Regions from separate parts of the Homo sapiens genome. Here region 1 is linked to region 2. The links are contacts of gene promoters, found by promoter capture Hi-C in blood cells and fetal thymus (Javierre and others, 2016). All regions are on one chromosome and are shown on one strand. Each heading gives the region's core, a stretch centred on a gene start or on the middle of the fragment in contact. The rest is flanking DNA. Distances are from core to core; before and after follow the strand shown. Region 1 holds the start of DAPK3 (death associated protein kinase 3). Region 2 holds the start of HDGFL2 (HDGF like 2).

Region 1 (4,349 bases), core at 1,568-4,067, 500 kb before region 2:
GTCAGTAGTTCGAGACCAGCCTGGCCAACATGGTGAAATCCTGTCTCTACTAAAAATACAAAAATTAGCCAGGGGTGGTGGCGGGCTCCTGTAATCCCAGCTACTCGGGAGGCTAGGCTGGAGGCCGAGGCTGCAATGAGTCGAGATCGCATCACTGCACTCCAGCCTGGGCGACAGAATGAGATAGTGTCAAGGAAAAAAAAAAAAGGCTGTTATTCTGGTAAACGTTCTAGCAACTACCCCAGTCTTAAGTCATTCCATCCATGTATGTACAGTTTTCCAATGAATTAATTCCTAGAGGTGAAATCGGCGAGTTAAAAGAAATTTGGCTGAATTTTGCTGACTTTTGCCAAACGACCCCTAGCAGGAGGGGTCAACACTGAAGCATGAGAAGGGGGAGGAGGGAGCATGCTTTCTCTGCCACTAACGAGGAAATTCCTGAAGGAGGGACCTCAGGATCCCAAAAGAGCCTGCAGCACTCTCCCTAGCCTGACACAGAGCTCACTTATTTACATTCCCTTCTGGTGACATCATGGGGAGGCTCCAGGGAGGCTGGCCAGTAGCAAACTCACCAAATAAGGCTGGAGGCTCTACAAAAGGAGGCAGGGCCTAGTGGTGCCTGGCTAGTCTGGAGGGGGTGGGGCCCCAGGGGGACCCTCCAAGGCCCAGACAGGCAGGAAATCAGCTGCCTCCCTGGAAGAGGAAACCTCTGCTTTTTCCCACAAGCATGTTAAACAATTGACCGAGGTTTGGGCCCAGCTGGGAGACACGCCCCTCCCTCCCCCCACTTTAAACATCCAAGAGCTGGGCAAAAAAACTAAAGTGCCTCCCACAAAAGAGGATTAACACAGGGAGATTTTTTTTTTTTTAAATAAATGGGGTTTCACTCTGTTGCCCAGGCTACAGTGCAGTGGCACGATCATAGCTCACTGCAGCCTCCTCCAACTCCTGGGCTCAAGCCATCCTCCCGTCTCAGCTTCCCTAGTAGCTGGGACTACAGGCATGAGCTACCACACCTGGTTAATTTTTTTTCATTTTTATTTTTTGTAGGGATGGAGTCTTGCTATGTTGCCCAGGCAGAAGACACATCTTTTAATAACAAAAGCAGCTGGCATCTGTTGCTCTGGTGCCCCATGCCAGGCACGGTCTTGGCTGCTGTAACGGCTCAATTACTTTTCTCCCCACAGGAAACACACAGAGGATTCCCAAGCAGGAATTCACAGCCGGGGCTGTCTGACTCCACGGCCCAAATTCGTTCCCCCACCGCATGATACTGACTCATTCCTTCTCAGCATACAGGATAAAGAACAGGAAAGGAGAGCTGCTGTTCAGAAAACCCCACAGCGCCTCTCTCCTATCCCTGGAGCCCAGCCGTGCGGGCAGACAGCTCACCTGCCCAGCTCCTCCCCCATCTCATAATGGTCCTCCACGTCCTCCTGCCTGAACGTGGACATGGCGGCCGGTCCGCCTTCCAGCAGCTTCCACTCCAGGGAAAGTGCAGTCACCGCAGCCTGGAGATAGGACCTCAGGAGTCCCCTAATGGCAACCCTGGAGAAGACAGGGAAAGACAGAAGTGAGGAACTGAGACACCACCCTTTTCTCCTAGATTAATGGACAGACCTGTCCAGCAAACACAAGCCTCCCACCTCTCCACTCTGAAGCTCCAAACTCGACAAAAAGAGGTGCTGTGTTTACTGGGCTGGGTCCTGTCATGTCACCTCTTAGAGCCCCATAACCACTCAAAAGTTTGGTAACAGCCCCACTGGGCCACCTTCACCCCGCAAAACTCTCTCCAGACACATAATTCTGATTTCCCCGACGCTGCCTGCGTCTTTTTTTGCCTCTCACTCCTAGACTTCTCTCAACCTGCTCAGCCAAAATCCCCCACCATTCCTGCACGTTCTCCTCAACCTCAAATCCCAGGGCTACCTTACTCCCTGGCCAATGTCTTAACGAAGTTCTCAAGTCTACTTCTTTTGTTGTTGGTGTTGTTGTTTTTTGAGAAGGAGTCTCGCTCTGTCGCCCTGGCTGGAGTGCAGTGGTGCAATCATGGCTCACTGCAGCCTGGAACTCCAAGGCTCAAGCGATCGTCCCAGGCCTCCCAAAGTGCTGCCATTCCGATCAAAATTCCCAAGTTACTACCTTAACCCCTCCTGGTCCTTGCCCTCGGCAGGTCTCTTAAGACCCTCATCGATGGAACACCCCCGCCCACCCCCAACCATCTCTGACTCCCTCCAATTCTGAATTTTCCAAGAACCGGACGACGCCTTCCACGCTCCTGAAAGCCCACTTTGCCTCCCTCCCCCGCTGACCTCCACTGTCCTCGCAAGATTAACCTCTTCCTCCACGCTCCATGTATCAAAGTCCCCCAACCGCCGTCTCCCCTACCCCCCAAAACGGGCCGCCAAAAAGGGCCCCATCTGAGTCTCCTCCACCGTCCTCTGCCCCTTCTCGCCCGCAATCTCCGCACAAGCCCCTAGGCAGACCCCAGTGGCTCCCTTTGCAGAACCTCCCCCCGCCCCCAAGGCCTTGCCCATCCCTAAGGCTCCGCTCCAGCATCCCTGGGGCCGCTACGCCCCTCGCACGCCCGGCCGAGCCCTTTCCCCGGCCCGGTCACCCAGATGGGTCCCCAAACCTACCAGCTCCTCAGATTCTCTCCCTCCCTCGTCCTCCGCGGGCCCCCGAAGCGCCGCTCTGGCCCCACCCAGCCCTCCAGCCTCGGCCCGAGCCCGCTCTTTACCCTCCGCAGCCCGGAGAATACGGCCGGCGCCGCCGCGCTGGCCACCGCCGCCGCCTCCAGAAGCCCCGCGCCCCTGCCGCCGCGACGCGCCTGCGCCGACGTCACCGCACCCGCCAGTGCCCACCCCCGGGAAACGAACCCCGCCGCCTATTGGCCGGTGCGCCCGCCGCTCGTGCCGCACCTCGACGTCCCGCCCCCAGCTGCCTTTTCGGCACCCACACCCGGATGCAGCCTCACCACTGGCTGAACACTCGCCATCCCTGATTTCATTGGCTGCAGTCGACGCTGGTCAAGCGGACGGAAAAAAGGCCGACTTCCGGTCCCTTCATCGCCCCGCCCGCCTCTCCTCTGACCCAGGTGCTGAAGCTGCGAGAAGTGAGGCTGAAGCCCTGCATCCCGCTTCCTGCCTTCCTGGAGCACCGGTTGGGCGAATGGATGGCTCACCTGTGGCCGAGCGCGCCTGGCAGCTCCTGGAGTGGACCCTGGGACTGCTTTAGTCCCTATGTGGCAGTTTCCTCCACTGAAAACTGTTACCCACATTCTAAATACTTAAAATGCAAATGAGGTCAATCTGGGGTTGTCATACACAGGGTCCCTCTTCGTCTCAAAATAGAGGGTAACAGCAAGCATTTTATTGAGACATAGTATGTGCCAACTGACAACACTGGGAGGTATCAGGTTTGTTTTTTTTTTAATTTTATTTTTTGAGACAGGGTCTCACTCTGTCACCCAGGCAGGAGTGCAGCGGCGGTATCCAGCTCACTGCAACCTCCACCTCCCGGGTTCAAACGATTCTCGTGCCTCAGCCTCCCAAGTAGCTGGGATTACAGGTGCCCATCACCACGCCCGGCTAATTTTTGTATTTTTAGTAGAGACGGGGTTTCACCATGTTGCCCAGGCTGGTCTCGAACTCCTAAGCTCAGGTGATCCGGCACCTCAGCTTTCCAAAGTGCTGAGATTACAGGCGTGAGCCATTGCGCCCGGCCTAAATTCATTTTTTATTATTATTTTGAGACGGAGTCTCGCTCTGTCACCCAGGCTGGAGTACACTGGCACAATCTCGGCTCACTGCAAGCTCCACCTCCCAGGTTCACGCCATTCTCCTGCCTCAGCCTCCCGAATAGCTGGGACTACAGGCGCCCGTCACCACGCCCAGCTAATTTTTTGTATTTATTAGTAGAGACAGGGTTTCACCGTGTTAGCCAGGATGGTCTCGATCTCCTGACCTCCTGATCCGCCCGCCTCGGCCTCCCAAAGTGCAGGAATTACAGGCATGAGCCACCTTGCCCAGCCTTTTTTTTTTTTTTTTTTTTTTTTTGAGACAGTCTCCTTCTATCGTCCAGGCTGGAACGCAGTGGTGAGATCTGGGCTCACTGCAATCTCTGCCTCCTGGGTTCAAGCGATTCTCCTGCCTCAGCCTCCCGAGTAGCTGGGACTACAGGTGCACGCCACCACTCCCAGCTGATTTTTGTATTTTTAGTAGACGCAGGGTTTCACCATGTTGGCCAGGATGGTCTCAATATCTGTGATCCGCCGGCCTCGGCCTCTCAAAGTGCTGCGATTACAGACGTGAGCCACAAGCCGGCCTTTATATTTTTTATTTACATTT
Region 2 (4,459 bases), core at 96-2,595:
CCTCGTGATCCACCCACCTCGGCCTCCCAAAGTGCTGGGATTACAGGCGTGAGCCACCACGCCCTGCCGGAAGGTAGAGTTATAGCTTTTTTTTTTCTGCTCTGTCACCCAGTCTGGAGTGCAGTGGCGCGATCTCGGCTTACTGCAACCCCCCGCTCCTGGGTTCGAGTGATTCTCCTGCCTCAGCTTCCTGAGTAGCTGGTATAGGTGCGTGCCACCACGCCCAGCTAATTTTTGTATTTTTAGTAGAGACGGGGTTTCACCATGTTGGCCAGGCTTGGTCTCAAACTCCTGACCTCGTGATCCGCCCGCTTCGTCCTCTCAAAGTGCCGGGGTTACAGCCGTGAGCCATCGCGTCCGGCCGAGTTATAGCTTCTAATACTTCCTGTATTTCCTGTTGCCGGGCTCAGTCTAGAGCAGGGTCCTCACAATCATTATGGGCCCCATCTTCCAAGTGCAGAGAGCGAAGCCCAGGACAATCAAGTGACTCGGCCCCACGGTATTCAGTACATTTTTCTTGAATGAATGAATAGGTCTGTGTGGCGTTTTGGGGCCCTGGCATATAGTAGGTACTCAGTTAAGTTTTTAACTAAGTGAAGAAATAACTATTTTGTGCATTTTGTGGCTGTTTATACTAAGAGCTCCCCCGGAGCCTGCCCCTTCCTCTAAGTCCCGCCTCCTCGAGCTGGCAATCGCCCGTCCCTGTTTTATGTTGTATCGCTCTTCTTTCGATAGCCAATGGCCGACGTTCCCGCTGAAGCCCCGCCTCTTGTGATGGCCAATGCCTGCTCCCTACCTTGAGGCGCTTCTCTTGTGGTATCCAATGGCTTGCATATCTACTTTAAGCCTCTCCTCCTGAGCGGGAGAGGCTGTCAATGACCCGCCCATTGCGTTAAGTGATTGGCCTTCTTTTCTGCGGTATCCAATGTTCTGCCCTCCTTATATCCCCTTCTCTTGTGGAGGTCTATGTCCTGCCTCTTTCCCTTAAGCTCCACCCCTTCACTCCCTTAGAGCGTCTGTTCGTCTCCTCCCACCTTTCCCTTTCACCTCCCATAACCTCCCATTAGAGTCTCTGGGTTACGCCCCTTGGGTCTGTCCGTTATCCAATCCCGTTAACTGCTGTGCTCCAACCTCTGTTCTTATTGGTCGCCTCCCTTCTCTGTCCCCTGCACGTGGTCCTGATCGACGGCTTTGCCGGCCCGTGACGGCCGGAGGGCTGAACTTCCGTTGGCGCAACGCCCAATAAGCGCGCGTCGGCAGGCTGCCCAGACAGCCTCCCCCGCCCCCTCGGCGTCCCGCTCCCGCCCCCGGCTTCGCCTCCCGCTGCCGCCGCCGCCGCCGCCGCAGCCGCTACCGCCGCTGCAGCCGCTTTCCGCGGCCTGGGCCTCTCGCCGTCAGCATGCCACACGCCTTCAAGCCCGGGGACTTGGTGTTCGCTAAGATGAAGGGCTACCCTCACTGGCCTGCCAGGGTGAGGCCGCGCGGGAGATGGGGCCGGTGGGGGGGGGGGGGGGGGCAGCGGGGGCCCCGGGCCGGAGGCGGGCACTGGAGGGCCGGGGTTGTCCTGGGCCTGAAGGAGCTGCGCCCCGGGGGTCTGGGGTTCATGGGGTCTGGGGGTGTCCGAGACCCGCAGCGGCCCCGCCCTGGGGGTCTGGGGGTCCTGGGCCGCAGGGAGCTGCGCCCTAGGGGTCTGGGGTTGTCCGGGGCCTGCCGGAGCCGCGCCCCGGGGTCTAGGGATCCTGGGCCTCAGGGAGCCCCGCCCTCGGGGCCTGGGGGTCCTGGGCTGCAGGGAGCCGCGTTCTTGTGGTCTGGTGGTGTTCGGATCCTGCAGGACCCGCCGTCTGGGCCTGCAGGAGCCCCTCCCGGGGTCTGGGGGTCCTCGGCCTCAGGGAGCTGCGTCCTGGGGTTCTGGGGGTGTCCAAGCCCTGCAGGAGCCGCGCCCCGGGGTCTGGGGGCCCTGGGCCTCAGGGGGCCGCGCCTAGGGGTTCTGAGGGTGTCTGCGGCCTGAGAGACTCTCGCCCTTGGTGTATGAGGGTTTTGGGGCTCAGAGAGTCGCTCCCTGGGAGTCTGGGGGTATCCTGGGCCCGAGGGAGTCGCACCTTGGGGGTTTGGGGGTGTTTGGGGCCTGAAAGAGCCGCGCGCCGACGGTCTGGGGGTCCCGGGCCCGAGGAAGCGGTGCCCTGGGGGTCTGGGGCCTGATAAATTCTCACTCTGGGGGAATGGCGGTCCTGGACCTGAGGGAGCTGCGCCGTGGGGATCTGGGGGGTGTCCAGGGCCTGAAGGAGCTGCGGCGCCAATGGTCTGGGGGTCCTGGGCCTGAGGAAGCTGCGCTCTGGGGGTCTGGGGCTTCTGTGCCTGAGGGAGCTGCACCATGGGGATCTGGGGTTGCCCTGGCCCAGAGGGAGCCACGCCTCGTGTGTCTGGGGGTGTCCAGGGTGCCTCAGGGAGCCGTGCGCAGGGTGTCTGGGAGGGTCTGGGACCTGAGGGACCCTCACCTGAGGGCCTGGGGATCCCAGGCCTGAGGGCTCAAGGTTCAAGTTTGAGCAGAACTGCGGAACTTGAGATTTGGGGTCAGATATGGGGGCTGAAGCACTCCCTTGTGGGTCCTGGAGAAGCCCAGTTTTGAGGGGCTGGGGGGCCGAGGGCCATGTGCTAGGGGTCCAGGGTTGGAGGAGGCAGTCAGGGGGGAAGGTTGAGGGTCAAGGCTAAGGGAAGCTGGGACCTCTGAGTGAGGGGCTGGGGGTGGGGGAATGGGGCTCGGGGCTCTGTTCACGGGGTCACTGGGACTCGGGGAACTGGACCTTAGAATGAAGTTGGCATCGGGACTGTTGGGGGACCCTGGGGATTGGTCCCCTGTGGGGAGGAGGATGTAGAAGCTGGTTTTGGAGGGACTTGAGGGTGGGGTGGTCCAACCCCAATGCTTGAAATGGAGACAGGCCCGGGCCCAGGGAGTGGGAGCGCTTCTGAGGGAAGGGGGCTGGCCGAGGGGACCTTGGATGCCCCTTTGGTGGAAGCTGGGGTCCCGACGACCTGGATAGTCCCAGGTGTCCTGGCCTGAAGGATATTCCGCACCTTGGAGTCCCAGGTGTGGAGGGGGTGAGTTCCAGGCCCTGAGAGGTACAGGCCAGCGGGAAGCAGGGACCCCAGGCTATTGTCATCCCCAGGTCTTAGGGCTGAGTCTCCCAGGGCTGAGGTTGGTGGAATTTGCCGGGCAGGACTGAGGAATTTGGCACTGGGGGTGGAAGGCTGGGGCAGCAGGGAGGGGCTGTGGAGGGGGACACCAAACGGTGCTCTGGACCAGAACCAGCCCAGGTCCGAAGCTGGCAATGCCGCTGGGATGGGTGGGCCTCGGAGGACCGTGGGCGGGTCTTGGGAGAAGCGGGGCTGTGAGGCATGCCGGGCTGGTCCTCGGGTGGACTGAATTTAGGATGCTTCTGGCGGGAGAGGGATGCTGGGCCTGGCGGCCCATGGCCGAGCCCAGGGGCCAGGGACTCTGATAAAGTAGCTCTGAGGAGACCCAAGCGAGAAGGAAGCTGGGTGAGTGGGGCAGGGAAGATCGGGAGCCCCCTAGAAGCTGGAGACGTGGATGGGGAAGGAATGCATTGGGAGGGGAGAAGCCACTCCAGCCTGCTGTGCTCGCGCTGACTTTCTTGGGGGAGACCAGAGCAATGCAACTTTATAGGCACTTCCCTCCCTTTCCCAGCTCTCTTCTTCCCAGAGCACTCGCTTTTCTCTCCCCCGTCCCCCCTTCTCCAGCCTGCTCTCCTAGCCCCAAACGTTTCCAAGCACCTGATTGGAAGTGAAGGGGCTGTTAGTCTCCTGTGGGGAGGTGACTGACAGCTGCCGGAGCCCATGGGCCTGCAGGGAGAGGGTGGGACTTCCTGGATGCTCAGGGCCGTTTCTTGTAGCCCACCCCCCACCCTCTGCATCCTTGGAGCTGCCAGCTGCATCCTCTGGGGGACCGCCCGTGAGCCCCTCTTTGCGGGAGGGGTCCCCAGGAAAGGTCCTGGGAGTCCATAGACGCTGAGCTTGGCCCCACCCCCTGGTTGCTTCAGAGGGCCGGATCTGGCTTTGCTCAGGTGGAGCACCTGCCCTGGGGCCAGCTCCGTCCCTGGGGTAGGGGGAGAGCTCTCTGGGTGGGGCACAGCTTTGCAGTGAAGGGTACACAGAAGAATGCAGCTTCCCATCGGGAAGGGGCTGCTGCTTCCTGGGTTGAAGGCTCCCCTCCTCCCAGCGTGATTTGCCCCAAGTAACTTGGCTGATTTCTCGGTGATTTCCTGGGTCAGTGGGTAAAGCCACCCCCTCACTGGCCTCTCACTGCAGATCGACGACATCGCGGATGGCGCCGTGAAGCCCCCACCCAACAAGTACCCCATCTTTTTCTTTGGCACACACGAAACGTAAGTGTCCCCTTCTGGGGCTTGGTTTTCTCCTCTGGTGCCTCCCGGGGTGGCCTCAC

Evidence for each region. Contacts are between HindIII fragments. The CHiCAGO score rates a contact against its expected background, and 5 or more counts as called.
Region 1: a contact is called between the fragment with the promoter of DAPK3 here and the fragment with the promoter of HDGFL2 in region 2, in 2 of 17 cell types (non-activated CD4 T cells and total B cells). The highest score is 6.1, in non-activated CD4 T cells.

The regions. Positions count from the first base shown.
Region 1 is chr19:3,968,282-3,972,630 of GRCh38, forward strand. It overlaps DAPK3 (death associated protein kinase 3), which reads right to left and starts at 2,818. Exons shown (of 9, transcript NM_001348.3): 1 at 2,640-2,818; 2 at 1,393-1,548. The coding sequence starts at 1,454. RefSeq lists enhancers at 1,240-1,869, 1,870-2,501 and silencers at 1,390-1,684, 2,673-2,802. The HindIII fragment of the contact is 26,550 bases long and covers 1-4,349 here.
Region 2 is chr19:4,470,952-4,475,410 of GRCh38, forward strand. HDGFL2 (HDGF like 2) reads left to right here and starts at 1,346. Exons shown (of 16, transcript NM_001001520.3): 1 at 1,346-1,471; 2 at 4,324-4,400. The coding sequence starts at 1,400. RefSeq lists enhancers at 1-161, 422-771, 3,261-4,210, 3,563-3,702 and silencers at 1,272-1,451, 1,482-1,541. The HindIII fragment of the contact is 12,260 bases long and covers 1-4,459 here.